2 separate regions of the Homo sapiens genome follow, and region 1 is linked to region 2. Evidence: promoter capture Hi-C in human tissues and cell types (Jung and others, 2019). All regions are on one chromosome and are shown on one strand. Each heading gives the region's core, a stretch centred on a gene start or on the middle of the fragment in contact. The rest is flanking DNA. Distances are from core to core; before and after follow the strand shown.

Region 1 (2,943 bases), core at 50-2,549, 130 kb after region 2:
TTCTTTCTTTTTCCTTCTTTATTTTGAAGTGGAGTCCCGCTCTGTCACCCAAGCTGGAGTGCAGTGGCGCAATCTCTGTTCACTGCAACCTCTGCTTCCCGTGTTCAAGCGATTCTCCTGCCTCAGCCTCCCAAGTAGCTGGGATTACAGGCATGCGCCACCACGCCCAGCTAATTTTGTATTTTTAGTAGAGTCAGGGTTTCACCATGTTGGTTAGGCTGGTCTCAACTCCTAACCTCAGGTGATCCACCCAGAATTGTTTTCTTTAAAACAACTTTTCTGTACTGGACATGGTGGCTCACACCTGTAATCTGGCACTTTGGGAGGTCGAGGCGGGAGGATTGCTTGAGCTTAGGAGTTCGAGACCAGCCTGGGCAACATGGTGAAACCCCAGGCATGGCGGCACATGTCTGTAATCCCAGCTACTGGGGAGGCTGACGTGGGAGGATCACCTGAGTCCAGGAGGCCGAGGCTGCAGTGAGCCATGATCATGCCACTGCCCTCCAGCCTGGATGACAGAGCGAGACCCTGTCTCAAATAAATAAATAATAAATAAATAAATAAAGCTGTTTTTCTTTCTTTCTTTCTTTCTTTCTTTCTTTCTTTCTTTCTTTCTTTCTTTCTTTCGTTTGTTCTTTCTTTCCTTCCTTCTTTCTTTCTTTTATTTCAGTCCTCTTTACTTGAAAGTTTATCTCTTGTTCAGAAAATAAATATGGGCCAGGTGCGGTGGCTCATGCCTGTAATCCTAGCACTCTGGGAGGCTGAAGCAGGAGGCTCACTTGAGCCCAGGAGCTGGAGATCAGTCTGGGCAACATAGTGAGACACTGTATCTTTTTGGGGATTTTTTGGACAGAGTCTTGCTCTGTCGCCAGGCTGGAGTGCAGTGGCGTGACCTTGGCCCTCGGCTCACTGCAACCTCTGCCTCCTGAGATCAACTGATTCTCCTGCCTCAGCCTCCTGAGTAGCTGGGACTACAGGTGTGCGCCACCACACCCAGCTAATTTTTTTGTATTTTTAGTAGAGACAGGGTTTCACCATGTTGGCCAAGATGGTCTCAATCCCTTGACCTCGTGATCCCCCTGTCTCGGCCTCCCAAAGTGCTGGGATTACAGGCACGAGCCATCACGCCCTGCCTGACCCCCAGTATCTTCTTAAAGAAAAAAGAAGAAAAGAAAAGAAACAAGATATTCTTTCTCCCTAATGCCAGTTCTTCATCTGCGGTCCCCTTCTCTGCACCGTCTCTCTGTCTCCTGGGTGGTCATCTCCATCTTCTCAGACTTACGTCTTTAATGTTTGTATTTTTAATCTTTTAATCCCAGACCTGAGGCATTGATCATCTATCTTCTTAAATCACATTTATTTTGTCACTTTATCATTATTTTAAACCTCTTAACTTTTATCTCTTGTGGAGAGTAACTTTTAAGACCAACTTCATAGCTTTTCATTTTAATTTTGTATTTGCTGATTTTAACTTTGTAATACACATTAGCCCTCTCATTTATAAGGTATTCATCTTATTGGTGCTGCTAGTCTTTTAATTTCTTTTATCTGAACTATTTTTCATGATTATAAAGAAAACTCTTGATTTTAAATCTTTGCTGGCTTTTTTTTTTTTTTTTTTTTTGAGACACAGTCTCACTCCATCGCCCATGCTGGAGTGCAGTGGAGTGATCTTGGCTCACTGCAACCTCTGCCTCCTGGGTTCAAGCAATTCTCCTGCCTCAGCCTCCCACATAGCTGAGAATACAGGCATGCGCCACCACGCCCAGCTGATTTTTGTATTGTTAGTAGAGGTGGGGTTTCACCATGTTGGCCAGGCTGGGCTCCAACTCCTGACCTCAAGTGATCCGCCCTCCTTGGCCTCCCAAAGTGCTGGGATTACAGCCGTGAGCCACCATGCTTGGCCTGGCTCTTTCATATCCTGAGCCTGAAAGTCCTTTTTTTTCTCAGTGATTACTTTTTAATCTTCCAGGCATTCATTCAATCCTCACAAAACTCTATGTGGCCACCCCTGTTTGTGTGTTGTTGTTGTTGTTTTTGTTTTTTTTTAGAGACAGGCTCTCACTCTGTCGCCAGGCTTGAGTACTGTGGTGTAATCATCACTCTGCAGCCTCGACCTCCCGGGCTTAAGCGATCCTCCTGCCTCAGCCTCTTGAGTAGCTGGGACTACAAGCACACACCACCACACACAGCTAATTTTTAAATTTTTTGGCCAGGTGCTGTGGCTCATGCCTGTAATCCCAGTGTTTTGGGAGGCTGAGGTGGGAGGATTGTTTGAGCCCAGGAGTTCAAAGCCAGCCTGGGAGACATAGCAAGACCCTGGTCTCTATGAAAAAAAAAGTTATATGTATAACAGGCCAAGGTGGGCTCTGTTGTCAGGCTGGAGTGCAGTGGCGCAGTCTTGGCTCACTGCGACCTCCGACTCTCAGGTTCAAGCGACTCTTCTGCCTCAGCCTCCCGAGTAGCTGGGACTACAGGTGCACGCCACCACGCCCATCTAATTTTCACATTTTTAGTAGAGACAGGGTTTCACCATGTTGGCTAGGACGGTCTTGATCTCTTGACCTCGTGATCCACCCACCTCAGCCTCCCAAAGTGCTGGCATTACAGGTGTGAGCCACCACGCCCGGCCTTATAATTTTTTAACTTCCTGTAGATATGGGGTCTTGTTCTGTTGTCCAGGCTGGTCTCAAATGCCTGGCCCCAGGCAATCTTCCCACCTCAGCCTCCCGAGTAGCTGGGATTAGAGGCATGAGCCACTGCAGCTGGCTGAGGGAGGGCTTTGGAGAAGAAAGGGCAGAGGTAAAGGGAGAGAAGGACTGGGCAGTGTGTTGAGTGGCTCAGAGCAGCCACTCGGCTCCCTATTCAAGGAGAAGTGTGACATTCCGTGGCAAACTGTGACGAATCCACCTCTCCAAAACCCCGTTCAAGTTTGCTGTTCTC
Region 2 (3,054 bases), core at 38-2,537:
AAGTTCATTCATTCATTCAACAAATATTACTGGATGTCTACCCTCTGCCAAGCATTGCACTGGGTCCCTTAGGGGATAGGAACAAGATCGTATGTGGCACTTCTCTCCCGCAGAACAGTGGTCTCACCATACAGACCACAACCTCCCCCAACACCCACATTCCTGCACTCAAGGGAAAAGCAGGGACATTTAAGCTGTGCTTTGAAGGGGGAATATGATTTGTCAAACAGAGAAAGGGGGCAGGGCAGGACTGGTAGAACGGCCAGCTAGGTCAAAGGCATCCAGGCGAGCTTATCAAGGGGGGACAGAGGGAAACCAAGCCACAGAAGCCAACCGCAGCCTGGGCATGGACAGGGGCTGGGGCTTGGTCACTGTTTAGTTCCTGAGCTGTCACTTGGCATCTGCCTCTCCACGCAGGAGGGGACCTGGCAGCTGCCTCAACTCCTCTGAAATAGCAGTACATGCATCCTGTCCTGGGGAGGGTTCATTTGTATCTTGGAAGCTGATCACCATGAGATCCTTTTTTTTTTTTCTTTTGGGACGGAGTCTCGCTCTGTCACCCAGGCTGAAGGGCCGTGGCTTGATCATGACTCACTGCAGCCTCGACCTCCTGGGCTCCAGCGATCCTCCCACCCCAGCCTCCCCAGTAGCTGGGACCGCAGGCGCGCGCCCAGCTAATTTTTGTATTTTTTGTAGAGACGAAGGTTACGTTGCCCAGGTTGTTCTCGGACTCTTGGCCTCAGGCGATCTGCACGCCTTGGCTTCCTGAAGTGCTGGGATTACAGGCGTGAGACACTGCCCAGGCTATGAGATCCTTGATAACCATGAGACCCTGTGCCACAGTTCCCCACCCACGCTGGCCCCAACACAGACCTGAAGTTTTCGCCCCAGCTGCACTGTCCCCCTCCTCATCCTTTCTGTCCAGCGCCAACAGCATCTCACCTTCCCAAGCTGCCGTCCTTCCCAATGACCAGAGACATCTTTGCAAGCATAGCATGGCTGGAGGATGCGTTTCACCAAACGCGATGTAAGCACCACCAGGTGCCCAGCGCGGAGGTGGATGTGGGCGAACCCTGGACGCCCCACAAAGGACAGCTGCGGCCTGGGAAGGGAAGGAGATGGAGCGGGGAGAGGGGGAAGAGGTTGCTCCGCGTTTTCCGCCCGCCCGCCTGCTTTCCGCGAGGCACTGAGGCCTGAAAACCGCGAGGCCGCCCACGCGCGCCTGACCCGCCCCCCCCTCCCGCCCGCCCCAGGCCCCGCCCTCCCGCGCCCGCCCCTGCGCCGGCCCCTTTTGTTCCCTCCCGGAGCCGGGCCGCTGGCTCCGCTGGCTCCGCTGGCTCCGCGGGCGCTCAGCTCGGCTCGGCCGCGGGGCGCGCAGGCGGCTGCTGGGCGGCCTCGGTGCGCGCCTCCCGCCTTCCCAGAGACGTGGCGCGAGGCCCGGGCCCTGAGCACCTATCGCGGGGATCCCCGGCGCCAGGAGGGGGTGCAGCCGGTGGGCAGCGCCGCGCAGGGAGGGGCCGCAGCATCCTCGCCCCCCAGCGCGCCCGGGCCCGAGAGGAGGAGGCCGGGGCTCTCCGGGCCTCCCGCCGCTTAGCCTGATGCTGGAAGGACGAAGGTAGGGGCTGCTGGAGGGGCCGAGGGAGGGGGTCGCGCGGGCAACAAAGGACGGAGAGATGCGGGGGGCGGCGGCCTGGCCGAAAGCGGGGCTGCGGGCCCGGAGGCATTGTCGGGGCGTGGGCGGGGGCGGGAGGGTTCGAGGCCGGCCGGTGGGCGTGGGCGGGAGCTGGCTGGGGTGTGCCCCAACTTCCCCGTTGCTTGTAGGAGAGGAGGGGGCACTGCTTGGGGTGCCAGGGTTGGGGGCTATTCCCGGGCTGCGGGTCCCCCTGTTGAAGGCATCACCAGCCTCATCGGGGTCCCTACCCTCGGACGGGGGTTTGGCCCTTCTGTTGGAGGGTCGCCCGTACCCCCTTCCAAGGGCAGAGCAAGACGGCTGGACGCGCCGCAGGGCTCTCTGGGCTCACAGAGCCTGGGGAGCACAGCCTGGTGGGCGCGGCCATGCAGCCCCCATCTCCAAACCTGGGGTCTGGGAGAACAGGGACTGCCCCCCTCTCCTCCCTGCTACACCCTCTGGGGTCGCCTGGCCGATGGCCTTTGCAAAACTTGGTTGAAGTGCTTGGCTGAGGTGGGGTAGGAGGAGATTGAGGCGGGCGGCTTCTCTCAGGGGGTGTCCCCCCAAGCTGGCGCTGGTGGCTGGTGAGGCAGCAGATTTTCTGCCCTCCTCCCGGGGAGGGGCGGCGGCCGCGGAGGATGCTTGGCTGAACCTTCAGGGCCCGCCCGTTTGGACCTTTCAGGCAGAGCTTGGGCCGAGCGGGTGCCCACTGGGCACTGCCACGCAGGCCCCAGCCCCACCCTGGGAAGGACGGGCAGAGGGAGCACCTTGGGGGGAAATCACCCACCCAGCAGTGTGTCCCCCAACGTCTGAGACCCCTCCTCTCACTTCTGGGTGAGAAGTGGGGGTCTGGGATGAGGGGGTCTGCCGTCACTCTTGCGCGATGCCTGAGGGAGGTGGGTGGGGTGGCCTAGGGCTGTGGGCAGAGGAGGAGGAGGGTGCGGGGAGCACCACGTGTGTGCTTCAGAAGCCTCTTCCCTTTCGGTTGTAAATGTAAACAATAAGCCCTTCATTCAGCTGCTGTTACCTGGCCTGGCACTTCTAGGGGCTGGCTGGTCCACAGGACAGCAGCCTCGGTGTCCCCAAAAAGTGCAGCCCCGGGGGTTGATGAGTGCATTAGTGGGGAAGCTGGGGGCATAGAGGGGGTCCCCTGGAGGATGGGGCAGACCAGGAAGCTTCATAGAGCATCTTGCAGAAGTTTGCTGCCAGGTTGCCTGAAGGGGGTTTCGTGCAGGAGAAATAGCGTGAATAAGGGCTTGGAGTCAGAAAAGGAGGCTATTGGGTTAGAGAAACAGCTTAGGATTTAAGGAACTTAGACCTGCGTTGAGCACAGGATGCATTCTTGTCTGCAGTGCCTTGCGGGGGAATGATGGGATTCTGGCTTC

What was found. The method cuts DNA at HindIII sites, captures the fragments that hold promoters and counts their contacts. A contact is called where the count stands out against the background at its distance.
Region 1: a contact is called between a fragment that was not itself captured here and the fragment with the promoter of CLIP2 in region 2, in 3 of the 25 tissues and cell types used here (dorsolateral prefrontal cortex, hippocampus and spleen).

What each region holds. Positions count from the first base shown.
Region 1 is chr7:74,420,284-74,423,226 of GRCh38, forward strand. No RefSeq gene overlaps it. Among named protein-coding and RNA genes, the nearest start is that of GTF2IRD1, 32 kb to the right of the region's middle. The HindIII fragment of the contact is 8,329 bases long and covers 1-2,943 here.
Region 2 is chr7:74,288,120-74,291,173 of GRCh38, forward strand. CLIP2 (CAP-Gly domain containing linker protein 2) reads left to right here and starts at 1,288. Exons shown (of 17, transcript NM_003388.5): 1 at 1,288-1,615. LOC107986742 (a long non-coding RNA gene) reads right to left here and starts at 1,188. Exons shown (of 2, transcript XR_001745024.2): 1 at 943-1,188. RefSeq lists silencers at 1,207-1,676, 1,697-1,766 and enhancers at 1,642-2,286, 2,287-2,930. The HindIII fragment of the contact is 6,317 bases long and covers 1-3,054 here.